Regions from separate parts of the Homo sapiens genome. Here all the other regions are linked to region 7. The links are contacts of gene promoters, found by promoter capture Hi-C in blood cells and fetal thymus (Javierre and others, 2016). All regions are on one chromosome and are shown on one strand. Each heading gives the region's core, a stretch centred on a gene start or on the middle of the fragment in contact. The rest is flanking DNA. Distances are from core to core; before and after follow the strand shown.

The links. Contacts are between HindIII fragments. The CHiCAGO score rates a contact against its expected background, and 5 or more counts as called.
Region 1: a contact is called between a fragment that was not itself captured here and the fragment with the promoter of RNF146 in region 7, in 1 of 17 cell types (fetal thymus). The highest score is 5.3, in fetal thymus.
Region 2: a fragment that was not itself captured here is called in contact with the fragment with the promoter of RNF146 in region 7 in 7 of 17 cell types (total B cells, total CD4 T cells, total CD8 T cells and 4 more); the score reaches 10.4 in total B cells.
Region 3: a contact is called between a fragment that was not itself captured here and the fragment with the promoter of RNF146 in region 7, in 1 of 17 cell types (non-activated CD4 T cells). The highest score is 6.2, in non-activated CD4 T cells.
Region 4: a contact is called between a fragment that was not itself captured here and the fragment with the promoter of RNF146 in region 7, in 1 of 17 cell types (monocytes). The highest score is 5.4, in monocytes.
Region 5: the fragment with the promoter of NCOA7-AS1 here is called in contact with the fragment with the promoter of RNF146 in region 7 in 3 of 17 cell types (M2 macrophages, monocytes and naive B cells); the score reaches 7.0 in M2 macrophages.
Region 6: a fragment that was not itself captured here is called in contact with the fragment with the promoter of RNF146 in region 7 in 3 of 17 cell types (total B cells, non-activated CD4 T cells and total CD8 T cells); the score reaches 7.7 in total B cells.

Annotation. Positions count from the first base shown.
Region 1 is chr6:128,525,394-128,528,504 of GRCh38, reverse strand. No RefSeq gene overlaps it. Among named protein-coding and RNA genes, the nearest start is that of PTPRK, 6.4 kb to the right of the region's middle. The HindIII fragment of the contact is 521 bases long and covers 1,091-1,611 here.
Region 2 is chr6:125,777,315-125,780,761 of GRCh38, reverse strand. It overlaps TRE-CTC1-7 (tRNA-Glu (anticodon CTC) 1-7), which reads left to right and starts at 444; the gene lies at 444-515. RefSeq lists an enhancer at 1-369 and a silencer at 324-593. The HindIII fragment of the contact is 156 bases long and covers 1,777-1,932 here.
Region 3 is chr6:125,293,363-125,296,666 of GRCh38, reverse strand. All of the region lies in intron 3 of HDDC2 (HD domain containing 2), which reads left to right. Among named protein-coding and RNA genes, the nearest start is that of HDDC2, 7.0 kb to the left of the region's middle. The HindIII fragment of the contact is 1,210 bases long and covers 1,374-2,583 here.
Region 4 is chr6:125,835,142-125,838,679 of GRCh38, reverse strand. All of the region lies in intron 2 of NCOA7 (nuclear receptor coactivator 7), which reads right to left. Among named protein-coding and RNA genes, the nearest start is that of NCOA7-AS1, 18 kb to the right of the region's middle. The HindIII fragment of the contact is 2,191 bases long and covers 612-2,802 here.
Region 5 is chr6:125,817,380-125,820,854 of GRCh38, reverse strand. NCOA7-AS1 (NCOA7 antisense RNA 1) reads left to right here and starts at 1,997. Exons shown (of 3, transcript NR_126386.1): 1 at 1,997-2,045. The region is part of intron 2 of NCOA7 (nuclear receptor coactivator 7); the gene reads right to left. RefSeq lists an enhancer at 2,271-2,772. The HindIII fragment of the contact is 4,548 bases long and covers 523-3,475 here.
Region 6 is chr6:125,750,668-125,754,220 of GRCh38, reverse strand. HEY2 (hes related family bHLH transcription factor with YRPW motif 2) reads right to left here. Exons shown (of 5, transcript NM_012259.3): 2 at 2,342-2,420; 3 at 2,131-2,214. Among named protein-coding and RNA genes, the nearest start is that of HEY2, 2.8 kb to the right of the region's middle. The HindIII fragment of the contact is 2,286 bases long and covers 837-3,122 here.
Region 7 is chr6:127,265,239-127,268,393 of GRCh38, reverse strand. RNF146 (ring finger protein 146) reads right to left here and starts at 1,530. Exons shown (of 3, transcript NM_001242850.2): 1 at 1,469-1,530. RefSeq lists an enhancer at 842-901 and silencers at 1,102-1,371, 1,472-1,571. The HindIII fragment of the contact is 5,432 bases long and covers 1-2,602 here.

The DNA of each region.
Region 1 (3,111 bases), core at 102-2,601, 1.3 Mb before region 7:
TCAGCTTTCTAATAGCTTACAATCTATAGAAGACATCATAATGAGAGTTATGACAAGAAATATGCCAAATGTAAATGATGACTAATCATCCAGGTAACTATTGACAAAGGTTATCTCCTAGTTTATGTCTTCCTCTGATGAAGTAATGTAATATCAAACTAATATAAGATTGCTGGCATTCATAGCAAAGGAACTGTAATGGAATGTTAAGAATTGTATTCACTGTGAATACAGAGAAGATTGAAAATATATTCAATATCTTTTTTATAAATTTGCTATCACAGTTTACCTTTATGGAGTAATACAATATATTCTTGCCATTCTAAATTAGTGTTTTTTAAAACAGTGTATTTTTTAAGCGTACACACTCTGGAGTCAGAGTGCCTGGATCTGTAGTTTAGCTCCACCATTTACTTAAGCAAACTGCTTAACCTATTTGAGCAACAGTTTTCACATCCGTAAAGTGGCTATAATATTTTAAGGATTAAATGAGGTGATCCATGCATATTAGCTTTGGATTGCTATTTTGACAAATTACTGCAAATTTAGTAGCTTAAAACTACACAGATTTGTTGTCTTTCAGTTCTGGAGGTCAGAAGTCAGAAATGGATTTTGCTAGACTACAGTCAAGGAGTCAGCAGGGCTGTGTTCCATCTGGAGGCTGTAGGGGAGAATCCATTCTCTTGACTTATCCACCTTCTGGAAAACACTTGTATTCCCTGGCTTATGGCCCCCTTCTCCATTTTTCAAATAAGCAGTGTAGCATTTCCTCTCTTCTATCCTTACATCTTCTCTCTCTAACTCCAGCTCTATTGCCTCCCTCTTGTAAGGACTCTTGTGGATTACACTAAACCCATGCAAACAGTCCAGGATAATATTGCCATTGCGAGATCCTTAACTTGATAACATCTGCAAAGTTTCTTTGGCCTGTGAGGTGACATATTCACAGCTTCCAGGGATTACATCATGCATATCTTTTTGAGAGTGGAGGTGGGGAATGTTGTTATTATTCTGCCTACCACCCCTGTAAAGTATTTTTAAATATTAGCTAATATTATTTATTATGTACATTCACATTGTTCACCAAGCTTCTCTAGGATGTATCTGAAACAGTTAAGTGGCTATTTTACATCATGTGGAAACTGAAATAAAACTATGTTTGATCAATTCAGCCTCTGATTCTTTTCTCAGACTGTTTTAACTTGTTGTTCTTTGACTTTCTGCTCAGATCAGTGGACCATTAGTTTATATCAGCTGTAGTTGTCAACAAGTAAAAAAGTTAATTGACTATTTCATTATGGCCCCAAAGAAATTGCATGTGATTTTAATACTCCACTGTGCTCGTGCAGCTATTTCTTAATGAACTCTTCTCTGGGCTTATTTAGACAGTTGCGAAGATTTAAATGCTTATAAACTGATGTTATGAGAAATCTGTTGTGTACTTTATGCATCTTCCAACAAGGCTTCTTAGATGATTTAAAAAATTTATCAATAAAAATGAGAATTCATCCCCAGGATGGACAAGTGTTCAGTCAATGAGAGGCACACTTTGGTCAGATACTAACAGCCAGCTACTTCCCAGAAAGCGTGTTCAAGGAAGAAGTTCAAGCTTCACAAAGTGGTTTACGCCTCAGGCCTTTTTTTTTTTTTTCTGCCTGCAACAACTATCACTTTCTTTCAGATCTAGCTCAAAACTAGCCATATCCCAAAGTTTCTTCCTTCAGCTGTGCTTCACCATGACTTAATACTTCGCTTTATACTCCTTCGCATTTAGGGTACATGTATTTGCACACATGCATATACATACATACATATACATACATATATATACATACATATATATACATATTTATTTATTCATCTTCCTCTTCCCTCAAGTGGTTTGTTGTCTCTTATTTTTTTATGTTTTATTTTTTTGCCTGTTAAACTCAGATGTAAACTACTAATTCTCCTGTATCCCCCACAGAGTAACTAGCACTGTGTTGTGCCCTTAATAAATGCTTGCAAATGACAAAATGAATTCTGGGCTTTGGTTAAAGATGACTTCAGCATGGAAATGAGCCCCTATGTTTGTGTGTAGGTTTTAATGGTTCATTTTCTTGTCAGACTTCCCCTGGTTATGAATGCTGTGGCGGCATCAGCAGTATAAAGGGAGGATTTTATTGGAGAACATTTGGAGGATTAGAAAAATCTCCAAAGCTTTGGAAGCACCGCATCCTGTGTTCAGACTTCTATTTCTTTCTGTCTCAAGACCACAATAAGCACAGAAGAAAGATGGCAAGATCCACAGGGTTCCATATGTGAAGCCAGTCCCCCAGCCCCCCTCAGAAGTAGGTGGGAGGAGGAAAGGAGCATAATCATTAGAGAATTTATTATTCAGCTGTGTTAATTCTCATCAGGCTGCAACTTTGCATACGAGCTCTTAACCCCACAAGATATAGTTATTATTTAATGCATGATGTATTTAGTTTTAAGTTATCCTCTTTCCTGGTTTTTACTAAAATAACAAACAACAAAAAAATCCCCATGATAATTCATGCATTCAGACCAAAAGAATTCAAACAGGATTCAATGGGAGGCTGTATAGCCGGTACCTTTATACCTCTTTATAGTGAGCCGTGAAAAACATAATACATTTTGGTGGGCATAGAAAATACTCACTAGCATAAAGGGAGAATAAGGCACCATTTATTGTCCCAGAAAAAATAATTTGTCAAACACATACTGGGTTACTGTGAAGACCAGGCATTTTTTCCCCCAGAGTTTATTCTTCTATTAACATCATTAGACGAGGCTTTTTGAAAATGGGGAGCGGCTCACCAGTGGGAACCTACCAGCTCTGGAAGTGACTGTTACTGTCCCATCCCTCCACCTCAATCCAATTCACACTTTTATGATTGGCTTCCTTTTTGACCCATGCTTGTTAATTATATCCAGCTGTAGGCAAATTGCTCTTCCAAATTGGCAATACTGAGCTCTCAAGCTGCTCACATTTTCTGCTTCCCTTGATAAAACCTTTGGAGCATGCATTTTCTTGACTAGTGTTTCTGAACTAATCCTCAGTTATGGATGTTTTAAGGGTTCAAGGGACTTACAAAATAACTCTGGTTG
Region 2 (3,447 bases), core at 605-3,104, 1.5 Mb after region 7:
GTTTAGAGGGACTTAACATCCGCGTGACAGAGAACGAAGAAAGACGGAGAGGGACAGAACTTAGATTTGGAAAGAGCAGCTAAAATGGTTAATAAAATAATAAAGCAAATTACAAGGCTCTGGACAGTACGCGTCCAGACAACACTTGTCTTGGTAAAGAGATTTACATGTTACGTAAAGAATGAGAATTTCCAGGATATATTTTCCAGCATGGCAATAGGAAGAGGATTAGATTTGGAGGGTATAGGTTTTTTCCTTAAGGGGCCATCCCGGCGCTTCCGAGAATTTGCTTCAATTTCAGGAAATAGATTCAGGGACCAGGACTCAGAACAAGAACAAAGTGGGTGTGGCTTAGACGCAATACTCTATCCCCTACTGGTTAGAGGAATTAAGTGCAGATTTTTAACACAACAAATATATTTAGGAAGAAGCGTTGTGCAAGTTCCCTGGTGGTCTAGTGGTTAGGATTCGGCGCTCTCACCGCCGCGGCCCGGGTTCGATTCCCGGTCAGGGAAGTCTTGTTTTTCTTGACATTCGTATCCTTCATGCAATTTAGAAGTCAAGAGTTTTGTGTAGTTTTCACTTGCTGGTTGGGTTTTTTTTTCATAGTTTTTTTTTTTCTTTATAGTTTTTTTTTTCTTTTTAAATCATAAGTTTTATGTACTTTTCATTCGCTTGTTGGGGTTTTTTAATCATTAAAAATTGACCGTTTTAAAAGTTTATTTAATCTAAGGCTTAAAATACGCCATCTCTATTTACAGGTAATGTAATTTATAATCAATCAAATAACATAAAGTTCTGTGATTCTAAAATTGTATTTTTCAGTTTTTAAAAATAATTTGGATGTGTTTACAAGCAGTCAGTTAAGCCTTTGTTTAACCTTGATTTTGTTTGACTAATAAAAGAGGAAGATAGTTTTATGAGGAATAATACTTATTCAGTATCATGCTTAGAGTTAATTTTTAGTTTTTCTGTACATTAAGATTATGTACTTTGGAGATTATTTGCCTATATTGGAGCTATTCCTACTCTCATCTCTATAAATATGAGATCTTTTCTGAGATGTATGGTTGGACATAGCTAGTTTATTGTGTTTTAATAACCCATTTAGTTAATGTTTTTTTGGCTAACTTTAAATTTTCTCTAAGAGATTTACACAAATATGGTAAATGTGTTACATCCAGAGTATCAATTCCCACTATATAAACCATATAGGCCCCTCAAAAATGCACCTACTTATCATTAGTAATTCCCACATTCAGGGTAAAGTAGAATTCTGGGAGTTCCTCAAAGGAAAATATGGCAATGTTGGAGTCAAAAAAAGAAAAATAGTGTTATATAGACATTAAGGGTTTTTTTGATCCTGAAAGTTCTAAACCATCCTAACCTTTGCCACTTACTGAGCTGTTGGATTTTTTTTTTTTTTTTTTTAATTTGAGACGGAGTCTCTCTCTGTCGCCCAGGCTGGAGTGCAGTGGCGCGATCTTGGCTCACTGCAAGCTCCGCCTCCCGGGTTCATGCCATTCTCATGCCTCAGCCTCCCGAGTAGCTGGGACTACAGGCGCCCGCCACCAGGCCCGGCTATTTTTTTTTTGTATTTTTTGTAGAGACGGGGCTTCACCGTGTTAGCCAGGATGATCTCGATCTCCTGACCTCGTGATCCTCCTGTCTTGGCCTCCCAAAGTGCTGGGATTACAGGCGTGAGCCACCGCGCCCGGCCCCGCCTTTTTTTTTTAAGGAGAAATTTCATCATAGCATAGAAACAGACTGAAAGCTTGATTGCAACTAAAATGAGTTTGTTTTGCTCTCCTTTTAGCTGTGCTGAGACTGATTGGGAAGAGGAGAATGCTGAGTACTTAATGTTCCAGGAAGTCCATTGTGATAGGTGCCATGGGGTTAAGAAAAGATGTGATTTTTGGTGCTTAAGAAGCTTTCACTTCATTGGATAATTAAGACAAAAATATGTTGCCACCATTAACAAAAATAATTGGCACCATTCATTGATTATTTGCTGCATATCAAGTACTTCAAATAATCACGATATATGGTAAAAGAAGGGAGAAGGAAGTGAGCACTAGAATCAAAATAGAGCTTGAAAACTGTTTTTCAAGCTGGACCTAAAGGCTAGAAGTATCCGGAATGCCTGAGAAAAGGAGAATGGACATTGCTTCTAAGGGATCCAGGATGACCATGGTCTAGTATTTGCAACGAAAAGGACTAACTGTGTCAGACTGGCTGTAGTAGGGAACCTGCGCTGGGGAACAGTGGAGATGAGGGCAGATAGGTGACTGCAGCTAGATTATGGAAGACCTTAAGACAAGTCAAGAAATTACGAAGGGAACCCAAGAGGACTCGATGTCTGATAGGATATAAAGGGTTAAGAATAGGGAGGAATCAGTTATGAATCCTTGATTTGTTCTGTGTGGCTAGTAAAACTGGGGTGGCATTAAAAGTAATAGGAAGGTTGAGATGGAGAAACTGATGAAGAAGAGAAGGTAAGTTCAGTTTGAGCCCCACAGAGGCAGCACAACTAAATGTGGTTGGAAATACAGAATGGGAATTTTGGTGATAATTAGGGTAGAAGGGAGAGATTTTGGAGCCATTAACTTAAAAGTTTGAGAAGATTTGAGCTCTTCCCAAAGAAAAAACCTATAAAAAGGAGAGAGGACCAAGGAAAAAACCCAGGAGAGTATACATTAAAGAAGAAGGGGAAGAGGTAGAAAATGGTGAAAGAGTAGTCAGAGAGGGGCCGGGCGCGGTGGCTCACGCCTGTAATCCCAGCACTTTGGGAGGCCGAAACGGGAGGATCATGAGGTCAGGAGATCGAGACCATCCTGGCTAACACGGTGAAACCCCGTCTCTACTAAAAAAAATACATAGCCCTTGTGGTGGTGGGCGCCTGTAGTCCCAGCTACTTGGGAGGCTGAGGCAGGATAATGGCGTGAACGTGGGAGGCGGAGCTTGCAGTGAGCCAAGAAGATCGCACCACTGACCTCCAGCCTGGGCGACAGAGAGACTCTGTCTCAAAAAAAAAAAAAAAAAAAAAAAAAAGGAAGAGTAGTCAGAGAGGTAGTAATAAAAGGATAAGAGAGCTTCAAGAAGGAAGTAGCGGTGAAGAAAAGAGCATACTGTAAAGAGATCAAGGAGAAAACGGAGGAGATTAAGCACAGTCAGATGGTAAGACAGTGACTGTTGGGTACAGAACAGACTGGTGGAGCCCATACCACAGTAAGGAAGTCTATCCAGGAGATCATTGCCAGAAACATGATTCAAGGTGTTGAGGGACTAATGTGAGAGACAACAACCTTATTTATGACCTACACGCTGCAGAAGGGCGAATATAGCGAAGAAAAAGAGATCTTATGAAAATAAGATCTGTTATTCCAGAGCCAGAGACTGTGAATTAACCCTGACTGTGCCAATATCAGCTGCATTATCTGGGTTAAG
Region 3 (3,304 bases), core at 729-3,228, 2.0 Mb after region 7:
AAGGCAATGGGGAAACATCTTAAAGAACCACAAGTTCTTGGACAAGAAACCAAAGGCTTGGAGAGCACTGATGTTCTATTGCCTCTTCCTGCTGCTGGTCAGGATTTGGGAAGAGAGAAGAAAATCAGGGAGGTGAACAATTCTTTATGCAGATGGTGTTTATGAACAAGATTTGGATGTCTGAACCATGCATTAAGATAATTAAATGAGGGTTTCTTGGCTCTGAGTGGAATTTGCCTAATGAGAACCAGGAAACCTCATTTGCCCTTGCTGGCTACATCAGTGAGCCTCTAAACTAAAGTAGGAGGGAGAAAAAATACAGTGGTCCCTCAGTATCTATGGGGTATTGGTTCCAGGACCCCCATAGATAACCAAATCTGCAGATGCTGAAGATAAAATGGTGTCGTATTTGTATATCACCTGCACATACCCTTCCATATACTTTGTCATCTCTGTATTACTTATGATACCTAATATAATGCAAATGCTATGTAAATAGTTGATAACACTGTATTGTTTTTTATTTGTATCTTTTTTTTTAATTTTTTTTTTTATCTATGGTTGGTTGAATCCGTTAATGCAAAACCCACAGATATGGAGGACCAACTATACTTGATAAACCTGGAAGGCTGATTGTTTTGGAGAAAAGTAGGTATTAAGATGAAAGGGAGAATGAGGGCATAGAAGAAACAAATTTAGAAAGGAGCCAAAAGCAATACTTGTAGTCTGGCCTCATTCCTAAACATATTAACATACACTTGATATTATGCAGGTTGATAATGCAGGTTGATAAATGATGTCTGATAAGGATCACTGTGATCTAGTGAGGTGGAACTTGAAGCTGGAATATAATGGTGGCAGGTCATATTCCTTTGCAAAGGGGAAACCTTATTGAAACAGAGGGCAGAGTCGTGGTATGCCTGTGTCTGGGAGGGTTAAAGTTGCTAAAGAACTTGGAGATTACAAAGAGAATGGAACTTTATCATAGAGTAAGTATGACAAGAAGGAGAAAATGAAAAACACAGCAAACATTTATAGAGTGCTTATTATGTGGCAGATTTATAAAGTGCTTATTATGTGCCAATAATAAGCACTTTATATGTGTATTAACTGTTTAATCCCTATGATCCCTTTAGGTAGGTACCAATATTTAACCCCACTGTGTAGATGAGAAACCTGAAGGACAAAGAGGTCAAATGACTTGCTCAGGGTTCCACAGCTAGTATTAATAAATGGCGAGCCGGGTTTGAAACCCAGTCTGGATCTGGTCTTCAGTTGACTACTACACTCTTCAGCCTCATCAGTGTCTGAATGATGAATAATACCTTCCAGTTACTTGTCACAAAACTGACACAAAATATTTGCTGAAAGCTTCATTCAGCTCGGCACTTTAGGCAGATTTTTGACATATTTTGCTAACAGAGGAAGAGGCTAGGGAAGCTGTCACTCTAAATCTATGACTGAACAACAAGGTGAAACTCAGTATAGAAGTGGAAGTGTCAGGGCTCATCGCTTGCCAGGAAGGGAAAGGCTGGCATACTCAGCTGTGTACCCTGGACCTCAGCCATGTTGATTTCAGAGGGTTCAATTAAAAAGGCATGATTCTGGCATGTGCTGCCAAACAAAGAATATTAACTCTCTACAAGGTTTCAAAAATGCTATTCTGATTGTGTGATTAACAAATATCAATCAGCCTAGATTCAGAAAATCATAGTTCAGTTTCAGGAAGAGAGCAACAACGTATTTGCTGTTTTGTTTTTTAAAGAATATGGTGATTTTGAACAAAAAGAAGCCTATTAATAACTTAGTAATTGGATGTGATCACCAAAAAGCCAATTCAGTCTTACACTGCACTTAAAGGAATATAGTATCTAGCATGAGGAAGGTGATGATTCCATTTTCTTCCACCTTGGTCAGATCATACATATATCACTGTATTCAGTTCTAGGTGTGTCATTTTAAAGAGAATAAAATAGTCTCCTGTCAGAGCAGGACTTTCATGTTTGCATTCTACAGTTGAGATGTTCATATACCTGTATGTACATATGATTTAGTTCATTCTTTTCAACTGGAAGTAATTGGCAAACTTGTGTTTCTGCAATAGTGTAGAGAAAAGGAATCTATAAAGACACAGTTAATTTGTGAAAATATAAAGTATTTTCTCAAGTATTCTTGCTGAAATTTATGAAAAAGAAACAAGGGAGAATGCATGTACAACATAAGCTAAATTCCTTCCTACTAAGGGTAGTGTGATGCTACCACTCTGTAACTGAACAAGCCATTCAAGATGGTGATGTTATTTATAAGAGTGGATTGTTGACATTGGCAAATGTGGTTTGCTCTGGAAGTGGTTGTATTCTGTAACATTTTTTTTCTCCCAGTAATAAATAAATATACACACAAATGTCCAATTTTATTTTCACTGCTTTCCTGCAACTCACTATTTTATTTTATGTAAGACCTTTATATTGCCAAAAATGGTTTTTATAGCCATATTCCGTTCAAAGAGCCTAACCTCTGTGGTTAGAAGAACTGAGGCTGATTAAAAGGTATGGGATGAAGGTGGTGAAGGAATTTGAAGCTTTTTGAGAGTACTGGAGTAATTCAGAAATAAAGGAAGGATACTGGAGTAACTCATAAATAAAGGAGAAGACTGGAGGATAAGGGTAGCTCCTGGGATCTTTGAGACCAGAAAGTACAGAAAGCCTAGAAGTACAGGACACCCTCTACTCTTATTTTGTCTCTGCTTTTCATTAGGTTTTGGCTAACTCTCAACGCTTCTCCTTGTGGTGGGGAATATGGCTTCTCTCCTAGCCTCTGCTTGACAAATGCAGATGGCCCCTGAATGCCTGGTTTGAATTATAAGATTATCTCTTAGACCAGTCACTGTGGCCACAGATAGTCCAGCCCAGCGGGGTCACTGTCCACCTGTTTGACGTTGTGTTTGTGGGTTAGAGAGGAAAGCAGGAGGGATGGGTTAGGTGTGGTAGAAGAACTACAGGGAAAATTTTCAGCTTGATATAAGAAAATAATTTCTGCCAGTACTGTCTAAGGCAGCCTCTTGAGGTACTAGGCTCCCTACCAATGCACACATTTTTGGAAAGAGGATAGAACTGTTCCATGATGCTATTGAAGGGTTCAGATACTACATGGATGGTTTAGCTAATTGCCGTTTAATATCCCTTTTCAGCCTGTGAGTCTGTGAGCCTACAAAATTCTATCATGTAACTTCGTTTATGTTAATGGCAATAATCGCTCATTTGTATTGTACTTTACATCTTGCAATAAAAACATGTTAACAATA
Region 4 (3,538 bases), core at 458-2,957, 1.4 Mb after region 7:
GGCTAACTCTGAGAAGTTAGTGTCAAAATTGAATGGAATTGTTGGACACTCAACTGGTGTTGGAGAACCAGAGAACACCTCTAGTGAAGGAAATAAAAGCATTTCACTCCAGAATATGCTTCTTTGACATGTTTTGAGATGGCTGTTCAGAGGGCTTGCAAACAGAAGTACCCCTGCAAAGCTGTCTTTCATGGGGGAGTTTTGCATCAATCCAGCCAGGTCTTCCCTTGTCCTGATCTAGGAAAGATTTAACTGAGAGTCGGACACCTTTAAAGATCTGAAAGAAGCATTTACCACCTATCCTCTCTGATGGCTGCCACCTATCAGGTTTCATCTGTATAACAAGACTACCTTCACAAGCCAGGCCTCCTCCTCTTCTTTCCTTCCCCATAATCTATCTTGCCACTGTAATCTTGATTTTTGGCCATGCCCTGAGCCCCATTCTTTCCGTGACCTCAAGATGGTATAGAAGCTTCTGCACCCCATTGTAGGCTTGGGTAAACACTTCATGGTCTCCCAAACACTTGGGTTCTCCTCATGAATGTTAAAAAAAAATTGTATGCTTCTCTCTTATTAATCTGCCTTTTATGAGTTCATTTTTCAGTGAAGCTTCAGAGGGTGAAGGGGAAGTTTTTCCTTAGCCCCTAGAGAGTTAAGGACTAGGAAGGGCTTTGTTATCAAAGGGACTGGCGTGTGCTCTACTCATTAAGAGGAAGAAATATGGGAAGGAGTCCCTTTTTAACACCGACCATGAAGTAGTTCTGCATCAGTCATACAACTAAGAGCAGCATGCAATTTACTGTCCCATTTTTCATGCCAATTTATATGTTCCCTGGTCTGGACTTTCCATTTTTAAATAGTATATCGTAATTTCTTTAATAAGTGCAATGATGAGAAAATATAATAGCATATGGATGATCTCAGCCTCCTTCCTCATGCTGCCTCCTAAGGGAACTCTGGGTTTGTTTCCTTTTCCTGGTTCTGAGCTTATGAACACAGGTGTGGGAAATGAATTAGGGGGAGAAGTGGAAAAAGAAATATAGTGAGAGAAGAAATAGAAGAAAATAAACCTAAAAGGAAAGAAGGGGAAAAGGTAAGGACATGAGGAGATACACTGACTGGATATGGGAAGGGTTTCAAAAAGGAGAAAGAGTTTGGGGAAGTAGCTGAGAGACATGTAAAAGGTCAGAGAGATGGAGAAAGAGGATTTTAAAGTTTTATCAAATATATGGCATTTATTACCCCCTTGGATGTTTTCTGAAAGGTGAAGTAAATATTTATTTTCAATTATTTTCTCTGATATACTTATTTCTTTGAATGTGACTTAATCCTGGGACTGGACCAAGGCATGGCTGGTTATACACAGGTGACACACGTGTACTTTTCTGAAGATGCCTTAAAGGTGGAGCATGTATGAATGAATGAATGAATGAATGAGAAACAAACTTCAATCCGGGAAAGATGAAGCAGGCTAATTATAAGTTATCTATGTCAAATTTCATAAATTGATATAAACCTTGAATCAGACCATGTTACATAGACTTTTAGGCTAATTTCTCAAGCAAAGTCGCTTTACACACATACAATGAGAGAAATCAAACTTCACTCAACATTTATCTAATTTAAAGAATAATGTAAGGTATTTTGTGAGGAGATAACTACCCCAAGACCTAACAATTCCCCACTGCTTGAACACTTTGCCCCAAATGGAGAGCTGGAATTTCCTATCATAAATGTTTCTTCATACTTAATATGTCACCTGGCACACACAGGTGCAACCAACTTCCTAATATGAAATTAACTAAGTTATCAAGCACCCTCTCCAGTAGCAGACTTTACCAAGAAAGTTTTGCTTTGATTTTACTACGTGTTCTTTTTTATTTTTTAGTAGTTGTTGATAAAAGGCAAGGTAATTTCTCATAGATGTGTACTTGTTTATGTGGTTTTAAATGTTCTGCTCCCAGGCATTCCTTTTAATTTCAATACAGTTTCTAAAACTCTCTTGAACATTTGTAATGTTGGAATAATAGTCATCCAAATTTCCTGTGGATTTCCATACTCCTGCATTAAGCCATAAGAAAACTCAGCTGGACTTTATTTTGGCTGAGTTAAAGGCGGTTTTGAAGAAAACCAAAATGGAATGATAACAATATTTTATCAGATGGGGGAAAATAAATATGTTTTTAACTATTACTGAGACTCTGCAGGGAGTATATCAGCTACAGTTCAAACAAAAGCCAAATCAGGGAAAATTTCATTGCTGTTTGTATGGATTAGACCAAAGAATCTTCAATCTTTAATCATCTACATCAAAGGGTCCCTTAAAAAGAGGGGCTCAATATTTTAACGCATGTATACATTACAACTTCACAATGGCATCAGCAAAAATGAAAATTCATATTTACCAACCATTATGTCCCTGGCATGACAACTATACATTTTTTAAAGTGCTCTTTATTCATAAATTAATTTTTCTATATTCAGATACTGTTTTAGTGGAGTTGTGGTATTAAACACTAAATTGAGTTTTCTGAATTCTACATAAAGCTGTCACAATATTAAAAATTCTAAAACAGTTTAAGATGAAAATATAATTACCTAAACTAATGAAAGAATTTGTACCTTTTCCATTTTGTTTCCAAGAAGCGTAAATCATAGAATCTCAAGTAGGAAAGTTCTTTAAAGGTTATCTTGTCAAATCATCCATTCAATGATGGAATTAACTATGATATTTACAGTGACATGTACAGTGTCTAAAAACTCACTGAGACTCAAAGCATGTCATTCTCCTTTTTAAAAGCTTTAAATCCAGTGCCTAGTACAGTGCCTGACATACTACAGAAAACTGCAGTAGATTTCAATGGCCTCCCTACAATCTATTCCTTATTCTGTAATACCAGATCTGGGTAGGACTCATCCTAGCTCCAGGAAGGACATCTTTATGTGGGCCTGTCCAATCAAAGCACTGAGTCTCTGCCTCTGCCAGTGGCAGCCACTACTCCAAAACCTAGCACCGGCTCTAAGTTGGTCCAATCCCTGTGAGTCTCAGGACTTGTGAGACCTAATAGCAAGCATTTGCTTTGCCTGCTGTTGCATAATAGAGATTCTGACTTAGCAGCATTTATCAAGTAAAGCCTGAAAAAGGAAGCTAAAAGAAAGGAAGGATTTAGATACAGACAAACTGAGTCATAATGACATTATTTGAGTCCCAAATCCAGGCATTCCTGATGTCAAATCTTATCTGGGACTTTTTACTTATGTGAACCAGAAACTCCATATTCCTTTTTTTTTTTCTCCTAAGGTAGTCTGATCTGTTTTCTGTTACTTGACCTAGAAAGGGGAAAGAGCTTCCTGACTATTACAGGAATTTGCGTAAGTAAGGTTGCTCCATGCCAACAACACAAAAATGTGGATTGGCTGAGCTGGGTTTGGATGATACTTGGAAACTTAGCAGTCTTTATCACATGAAAATAACATGGATAGCTGTTGTATCTTAAGATTAGATTGTGTGCCTATCAAGGCTGCATTATTGGGGAAC
Region 5 (3,475 bases), core at 748-3,247, 1.4 Mb after region 7:
TAACTAACTGTGCTTATAGCAAAGTATCTTTGGGAAATGATATGGTTCCAATTTGGATTGTCGTTAAGTGTTCCTTCTTCCCTGATCTGAACAACAGGAGCAGCTCATGGGCTGAAAGTGGGAGGTCAAGATGAAAATTAGGTGAAGATGTAGGTAGACACAGAAGTAAGATCAGGAATGATTTGTTATTAAAGGAATGTGTGAGTACTCACTGTATCAGGTACTGTTCGTATATTACCCTCAATCTTCATAGCCATCTTGGTTTCATTTTACTTGAACACGAAAGCTACAAAGTGTACTATTCACACAACAGAGAAAGCTATACAGTGGGTTCAAATCTCCTCTGCCATGGAAAAGAGAATAAGGGGACCAGCTGTTCAGCTCTGGCCCTCCTTGCTGGGTCCCATTTGAGCTTCTCTCCAGTTCTGGCTGGTTGGGATGTCTCCTTCTTCAAAAGCATCTTGTTAGTTGGTTATTTTTAGCAACATTTAACAACTGAAGAAATGTAAGGTAAAGGAAGCTTAGAAGACTTGCCAGAGGTTATACACTGGAGTGAACTGCAAACACTAGGTGTTCTGCTTGTGGGTCAGAGGTTCAAGGGTGAAGAATTGCCAGGGCAGAGGCTGGAGATGGGAGCTAAGAAATGTTCTACACTTTGCATCCTTTGTCACTGAGAATGATGACAGAGGTGGTGCTGGCTCCTACTGCTGCTCTGAAAGGCTGGGTTAAGAGGAAAGCGGAGGTGGGAGCAGCAGTTCTGCTTTTCATGACAACCAGGGAATAGGGGAGGTGGGAGCCAACAAGGGACCTACATGAACACCCAGTCTGTGTCTTCGTCTATATTACTCACTGTTTACTCCCAGGCTCTCACACCTTATCAGAGGGGAAAAGTAAACCTCCCACAAAACACCATTTGGTTCAACTACAGATGTATTTTGGATATCTTCAATCAACGCTTGATCCTGAAAAAATGCTTTCAAAGAATCTTCAACCAATGGCATACAAGGACCTACTCGGAAATCACAAAAGCCAAATAATGTCAAGCAAGTGTGTAAGAAGACAGCCCTGTATGGCAATACTAAAGAAAATTTTGCATTCTAACTACAAGGGGAAGGAAGAGTCAGCAGGGGTGTAACAAATGACACATGATAGTCACCCCAGAGGATAGCATAAATTGTACACAGTACAAATAGTACAGAAAGTATAATTTGCTTTAGTAATTCAGTTTTTCATTTGGTTTTCAAGACCTGTCAGGGATCAAGAAATTAATATAGACATATACTAATTTTGCATATATAAATTATTTGCAAAACCATTTGTGAAAAAGTTTCACAAATCATTCAATCTAGATTTAACAACTGTTATAAAACTATCCTGAAGCACCTGAAAACCAGTTGGACCAGGGTCAGAAAATCCAAAAAATTCATCAGGTCTTATCCAGAATTACTCTATCTAGTAGCAGTATTAATCCACCCCTCTATTTAGAGTTACACAGGCATATTTCAAGATAAATTATAAGAAAGGAAAGACTGGGTGACCCTCAAATCACTAATTTCAATCCAAAATTATTAAAATAGGGTATTTTAAACTCTATTTTGATGTTAAAGAGCGAAACGTCAACAAAACAGGTTTGGCAAAGGACTATTTATCAAACACAGTCACACAACGATTATGAAACCACATGATAAGATAGCACACAAAGAAAACATTGGCTATTTAACTACTCAGGAGGAAAAACTAGGTGTTCCTAGTTTTTCCTAGGTGGAAGGGGGAAGCAGGCTAAAAAGCAGTTTTTAGGGTTTCAGATATGTAATTGTGGCAGCAGGCACAGCATCAGGGTAAATCTTCCTTTTGACTTCCTCAGAACACCAGTTGAGATTTATGTAAGGTGGTATAATTTAGTTTAGAGAAAACTGAGATTGCATCAGTTTGGCCTCACCCTTGGCCTGACATTTTATCCTTCTCTCCAGAGATCTTGCTTGGACTGCCCTTAAGTACGCTGCTCCAGAGAACTCTGCTCTACATTGTCAGAAACCAGCTTTCAAGTAAGTTCTGTTGCTAGTTCCACATGGTAATTCCACAGTTAAGTCAGAAGGCATTTGAAAAGATGTATAACTTTGGATGGCTCTTTTCTGATTATAGGCTGAAGGGGGTTCTTTTCTCTTTGGTTTGCCTTTTGCTTTTAATAGCTTGACCATTTCTGGCTTCCACTGCATTGTAAGAGCTAAACTACAGGTTTGTCAGTCAGTGTTTCTCTCTCTGTCTCTTTCTCTCTCTCCCTGCTCCTACCCCCTCTTCTCTCCATTCTCCTCTCTCCATCTCTCTCATTTCCTAGTTACAAATCATGTTGTCTTACTGTCTTAAGAGCATCACTGATTTCATCCTTGTGCCACTGTCCCTATGCTCCCAAGATCACATTTCAGCATTTTAGGATACGTTTTTTGTTTCATTTTTAGAATACTTTTCAGAAGAGGTCATGATAAGCAAGACAATTTTACATTTCTGAGTTGAAAAAACTGTGCTGCTCTTCCAGAACAGTTTTGGTTTGTATTCTCAGTTTCAGGGGCTCCCCTGACTCTACATTTTAGGAACAAGAAGAGGTTAACATTGAGCAGGTTGTTCATGAACCGGCAGTTACCTTTACTACAGGAATCACTTTGGATTCAGGCTGAGAAGGCACTATAGCTCTTAAAATCACTATGTAGGGCAAGTGAAGAAGAAAGAAAAGAAAGAAGAAGAAAGTAAGGAGGAGGAGGAAGGAGGAGGTGGGAGAAAGAAGGAAGGGGGAGAAGCGGGAAGGGGGAGGAGGAAGAAGAGGAGGAAGAGGAGCAGGAAGAGGAGCAGGAAGAAAGGGAGGAGGTGAGGAAGGGAGACGGGGAGGAAGGGGAGGAGAAGCATGACCACCATTTTGACCTAAACTCATATCTTATCCACAAATAAATTCAAAATGGATCACAGACTTAAATATAAAACATAATGCTATAAAATTTTCAGAAAAGAAAAACAGGAGAGAATCTTCAGAACATACAGCTAGGCAAAGAGATCTTAGAATTCAGACCAAAAGCACAATTCATAAAAGGAGAAACTGATAAATTGAACCACATCAAAATTAAAACCTTTTGCTCTGCAACTCTGTTAACTGGATGAAAAGACAAACTACAGTCCGGGAGAAAATATTTGCAAATCACATATCCAACAAAAGACTAGAATGTGTACAATTCAACAGTAAAAACCTAAACAATTCAATTAGAAAATGGGCAAAAGATAGGAAAGGAGATGCCACTAAAGAAGATACACTATGGCTAATAATAAGCACATGAAAATGTTAAACTTCACTAACCATTAAGGAAATACAAATTAAAACCATAATGAGATATCACTACATACTTATCAGAATAGCTAAGATAAAAATAAAAAATATTGACACCACCAAATGACAATGCAGACAAACTGGATTACTCAGACTTTGCTGATG
Region 6 (3,553 bases), core at 730-3,229, 1.5 Mb after region 7:
TTTAAATCATAAGAATAATTATTCTCCTAAGATCACCACAGCAAAATGATTTCAGTTGTAAAAATCTCAAACTTTGCATTCAATCTGTGTCTTGGTTAATAATATGTTTTACTATGGGGCATCAATAGTCTTCTATAAAGCCAAAGTCTAGAGGAGTTGCATAACAACTCCAGAAGATAAGGAGATAGGATTTTAGCAATTGATTGTTAAATATTTTTAAAATAGAAAACTCCAATAAGTCCTTTCACAGGCCTACTAAGTCCTGAAATAAGGTATTCACACTAGAACCATATAATTGGATCTGCATTTCAAGCAGATCCAAAAATTTTAAAAAGGACGACTTTTAAGGTTTTTTTCCCCAATAATTACCAGCAGGTGTCACTGTGAATTTCTAAGCTCACAAACAAGAAGCAATAATTTACTGCTTACCTAGGAAGCATCATAAATGCTTAAGGATTTTTGAACCTTTTAAAATAGTTCTTAATAAAATTGTCTTGCAAATATATTTTTATGTCCCTGCTTTCAGAATAAGGAAACCTCTGGTAACCAATTGAAATACAAATGTGCCATTTCAAGCTGTCTCGGGGACTGTGGGTGGCTTCTCATTTCCTGGAAGAGCTAAATAATTACCAATATGTTCTCTTTTTTTTTCTTTTTTAAGGACACTAAGGTTTATTTCAGGTCCCTATGCTTTACTTGTTTTGTAAAAATTATCAGCACCACGTACGGTGAGAGTGCCAGAGTTACTTAACTGCTCTAAAGAACACTTTTCTAATCATATTGTGACAGGGCCAACTCACTTGGGTTGGTAGCCAAGCTCTGCAAATGGGAAAGCTTGTGTTTATGGTAACTAACTGCCAAACAACTGATGTTTGCTTTTAAGGTTTAAGTCAACATTTAAGAAAAAAAAAATCTAACAAACCAAGAAAAAAAATCAAACAGACTTCGCCTCATAACTGCAGACATTTCAGTACTTCCAAATTTTAAAAACATCATTGATTACTGACATTTTCACTTGAAGCCTATTTGGCACTGAAAATGCTACTAATCAAAACTACAATTTCCACATTATTTTTAGTTTATCAAACACAGTCTCTGCATATAGATTGGGTGTGCTTTTTGTCTTAAAAATGTATAATCAGTAGCATATTATGTTTTGTATTTGGTCAGCGTTTAATTTTTCCATGAAAATGGTACAAGCAGATTCAGTAAAGTCACTAATAATTGAAACTGCACTTTCTGGATAATTTCCAAGGACTTTGTAGGGCTTGTTTTATAATGTTTGCAGATTCATGAAGTAAACAAACAAAATGGAATAAACAAACAACTGTTGTCTTATTGGAATTAAACTGAAAGTATTTTCAACAAGGACATGCTGCCATATCCTTTGAAAGATACTCTTAGAAATCTGTGTCATTAACCACTGCGGCAGGGGGAGAGCCATGACTTCTAAAACCACAAAAGATTTAAACATTTGGCTTTCTACTTTTCTAAGTGTGCAAAATCTTTTTCTTTCTTTCTTTTTTTGTAAAGGAATAGGTAACTATGAAAAGGGGCATTTATGATTAACTTCATTTTTACCAAACTTCTAAAAAGATGACCCAAATCAAATGGCATTCTACCAACCCAGGGATTAAAAATGAAAGCAAATGGCTTGGTAAATAAATTTTAGTGGTATTATCATTTAGGAAATAGAGCTAGAGATGTTACTTCTTGGGCTCTGATTGTTTTTTAATTAAAAATATTACATTTTAAAAAAATTTTGAGAAAAAAATGGTTTTTTTTTTTTTTTTGAAGGATACGGTATACAGCACAGTTTTAAATAAAACCACTACTGGTATTCATAGAAAGAACAGAGAAAGCATGAACACTGTTACCCTTAAGGGGAAAATAAGCTAAAGAATGGAAATGTTTTTCAACTTCATGATGGATTATGTTTTTAATAGTTTTGCCACAACAAAGCATTTTATTGAAATAGCTGCTCTGTGCCAGATCAGGGCACATACACTATTATTTTAATGAGCTTTAACAAGAACCCACATTCCCAGATGAGCGAATCAGATTGTGTTTGAGCTTTTTTTTGGGGGGTGGCGGGGTGGGTGGGGGGATTCTGGGGAGGGGATAGCTTACTTGTTTTTCAAAAGCAGTTGGCACAAGTCTTCTCAACTCAGATAAACTGTTATTTATCCGATCCCGACGCCTTTTCTCTATAATCTATCCAAAAGAAGCAAACAACAAAAGTTTATGAATTCACAAATGATAAAATTACTCAAATGAAAAAATGTAACTGTTACACAATAGTATAAGTTACATGAAATAAAAAGGGGGAAAAATCACATACCCCTCTCCTTTTCTTTCTTGCCATAATCTGAGATGTTGTTGTTGGAGAATTCAATCTAATCACAGAGCTAGTACTTTGCCTATGAAATAAGAAGAGTATGTCAGGTGCTGCATTAACATAACAATAGTTTCTTCTGGGTACTTGTGGCACCCATTAAATATTCAGAGTGATTGCACAGTTCAAGTCTGTGTTATTTTATTCTTAGTTCTTGTTTCACTCTTAACGGACTTTGCTTTCAGCCCGGCTGTCTCTTTTCAGGTAAAAATTACGCCTTAATTTGTAATCCAGATGCTAACCCATTGGCCAAAATGTCCCACAATTTTTACTTGAAAGTCTCCCAGTGAAATAATTACCGGCAGTTGGGCTGAGAAGTTAGATATTAGCATTTCCTAGTTCCACTCATATATTTTAAAGTCAACTAATCTCAAATAGCTTTCCTTCTCCCTCCTGTCAGGCACACTGAACAAAATAATGCCACTTTTTCAAATCAGGGTTATGTTAAGCACCACTATCAAACAGATGTGCAGTCGTCATACGTCAAACTCTTGTCTCTAGGTGCAAACTTTAAAATAAATAGAAGTTATCTTACTGTTTCAAAACTTCAGTTAGTCATATATTGCAACAGGAAAAAATTGACAAACTTGATGTTTTGCATACTAATCTTCCAAAAATATGCCCTAAATATGCCACTGATAGGAAAATTAAAACTCATTTTATTACTAGGTGAATGTTTTACTTTGAAAATGAAACTGTAGGTGTGTCTCAGACTTTAGGCTAAGCTTAAATCTCCAGAAGCTGCAATGCACCTTGGATTTACTAATGAAAATATATTTTTATATTGAAGGTTCAATCAAAGTATTATTTGGTCACATAATTTTTACAATCCTTTCTAGTTTGTATCTGTTTCTCTTCATAATTCATGGATACTATGCTTCTTTGTGTTCTCAAATTCCCCAGGTTCCTGTTATTTGTTCTCTTTCATTTTAGAAATGCTGCACACACCAGGTTGCTATTACCTCACCTTCTCACTTCTGGATCTTATTTCTGAATTACCTGTCCCCCTCATTTTCACCCCTTCTTTACGGGTTTCACCTTTCACGTGATAGCTTCTGTTTTTCAGACCTCATTTTTAAAGACGGCACAACAACACTTTAATGATCAGATACTTAAACCTTTGCTTTCGTGTAAATATCTTTGCTCTTGCAGATTTTG
Region 7 (3,155 bases), core at 281-2,780:
CACAAATCCTGTTATCTGTGTGGGACATTTTCTCCACGTGTCCTTACGTGCCATGTCTTTGAAAAGTCTAAATATAGATTCACTGACTAAAATGTCCTAAGTCTTCCAAATTCTATAATTATATACTGGATTGAATGCCAATATTATACGTTCACATCCCATTTGAAAAGTACACACACGAGGTGGGGGGGATGTGCCCACTACCTGAAATGCCAATCATACAAAGAACAAAGCGTACCCTATCATCTTTGGGCTTTCTTCTCTCCTCAGTTCTACACTGTTTCGATATTACAAAAATATTAAACAAAATGTTCAAAACTTGAGAAATAAGTGCTCACTAAAATGGCACTTAGAGAAAATAAATTAAAACATATACCAATATGATTAACGAGAAAAGATTCTAGTTGCCAGGATGTGTGTGTAAACTTACAGTCCTGTAGGTTTTACCTGTGGAGAGGACGGTTCCGTCTCCACTCTTAAAACAATTTTACATTCTTTAGAAGCCTTAGCAAAATAAATAGCGACAACAATGGAAGACCCACACTCCTTCAGACGGGATGGAGGGTAGGAAGAGAACTCCCCACCCAACAATCAGAACAAAGCAACAGCCTCAGCTTTTAAGATGCAGAGGGTTTGGAGGCTCAAGGGATATTCTGAGATCTCTTAATTGTTCCGATGCTTCAACAGCCGTCAAAAACAACTAAGAATATGCAGCGCTGGGCTTCACTAGGACAAGGTGCAGGGATTGCTCTCTTCGTTTTAGGCAAGACCGAGACACTGAGCAGGAGAAAAAAAAGGAGGAAGAGCGAGAGAAGAGAAAGCAGCAGCCAGAGACACTCCGGGAAAAGGCAAAAATGCAGACTGTACGCCCTGGCTTCGATCTGACCCAAGGCCCAAACTGTCTGACCCCACACGGGAAAACATGGAGCAGGCTACCGCCGAAAAACCATCGCCGCCCCTACACCTCGAGGCCAGAAGGTCCCCGGGTAAAGGCCTAAAACCACGGCCCAGAGGGGAGGAGAGGGACCCGCCTGCCACCCGAGGCAGCGAAGCGGGCTCAGGCGGAAGAGGCTGCGCAGTAATGGCCGCTGCTCCGCCCCTCGCACCCGGACCGAGACCAGCTCCGGCCGTCACCCAGGGCAGGGGCTGCGGCGCCCTCGGGCAGCGCAGGGGCTGTCACGGTCGTCTTGCCTGCCCCAGCAGCCAAGGCGGGGGTGGCGGAAAGGGCTGAACTGTCCCATCCCGCCTCTGCGCGGACAGCCGGGGCCGCGCCAGCCCAAGGGCGTCCATCTACGTACCGGCCCCTGACCCCGCCGCCGCCCCTCTCAGGCCCCGAGCGCAAGGCCGACCCGGAGTACGTTGCGGCTGGAGGTGACACCGCGAGCTATGCCTCCTCTCCCCGAGTGAGGATCCTAGAGTGGCCGGCGTTCACCCTGCTCCCCCGAGAGGGCCTCGCTCCGACTCCCACCTCTCCGGCCACAGCTGCGGCCACCTCGCAGTCTTTTCTCTCTGGCCTCGGAGCCCGCAGCTGCCGGGAACGCGCGCGGCCGTCACGTGACCACCCGGCGCGTCGCGGAGGAGGGGCCGCGACGCGCCGCGCACCCGCACCCGCACCGGCGAGCTAACTCCGGCGCCTCATCGTTCTGCCCCTGTCTCGCGCCGCTGTCTGCCGGTACTCTCTTGCCTGTGGGGAGCGGCGACTTCGCTGCTTGCATTCTTCTGGCTTCTTTAGAGTGTGCTTGCTTTGTATTAGGGCCCAGAGGCTCTGAAAGAGTGCAGTTCCAACAGAAAGAGATTTGGGGTGGAGGAAGTAAAACGTGTGTAGGACCAGCAGGTGGTGCTGCTCAAAAATCCAGCTTTGCTATCCTGAGGAAGCTCTGGGGCGCCTAGCTGAGTTTCGGCTTAAAGATCCCTTAGCAAAAGTACTGCTTGTTCCCTTTCAAGAAAAAAAATGGGGAGGGGGGGGACGGAGGGGAGAGAGTACTGTAGGACTTTCCAATTTGTTCTCCTTTTTAATGGTTGAGCAATTTAATCGGGGAAAAAATGAGTATTAGTTTTCTTTTGAAACCCCACCCTTTTTTTAAAAAAAACAGAATAGTGCCTGAGAAACTGAAGAAATTAATCTGCATGATAATCTAAAATTAAAGAGGTTATTTTGATCGCAAGCCTGTGGTTTTAAACATCAGAACTCTAGCAGTAATTCACCATTTTAGCATGTACATTTCCTTTTTCAGAACTGATTAAATTTTCCTAATTTGTAGGAAAATGAAGAGGGTGGAAGAGCAGACCTTTTATCTTTAGAAGAGTATGTATTTCAACATTCTATGACAGCGTCTTCTCATTTGCATTAGTGTTGCATTTTGGGATTTCATTAACTGTTTGATTCAGGATTGGAAGTTTTCAGTGTCCTTATAGGTATAGAAATGTATATGTTTTCTGTTATTCCTCTGAAATCAGTTTATTTCAGGGTTCTCATTCATATATATCAATATGTAACCCAATCTCTTGAAGGGTGCATCTAGTTCAGTGATGCTTGCGCGTGTATGCAATACTGTTCCATACATGTAGAAATATTGAAGTGTATATCCTTTAACTTTAAGCTTAGTTTTCTATCTTTATCTTCTTATTAGCCACTCAGTTTTGTCCCTCTATCCTACACAGCCCATGAACAGAGAATAGCTAAAATTTGATATGTACTCGAAGATTCCAGCTTGAAGAGGTAATGCTAATATTAACTAACAATGTGCCAGGTGTTGCTCTAAGTGCTTTATTCATATATACCCACTTAATTCTCATAATAAACTATGAGGTAGGCACTATTATTATTCCCATTTTACAGAGAGAGAGACACACACAGCTGAGATTTGAATCCAGGCACAGACTGTAAGATGTCAGCTAGTTCAACCCCTTCTCACTCATACCCAAGGTCTTTGTATTTCAGTAAATGGTTGCATCTTTCCTTGTTCAAACCCACCTTTAACTCCTCTCTTTTATGTCTTATATGCATTTGGCATATAACCTGTTGGCTCTTCCTTCAAAGTATATCCAACTACTTACCACCTCCGCTACAATCTGCATCATCTCTTGTTTGGATTATAGTGTTACGGTAGACCAGGAACTAGTCTTTTGACTCTATCCTTAATACAGAATCCTAA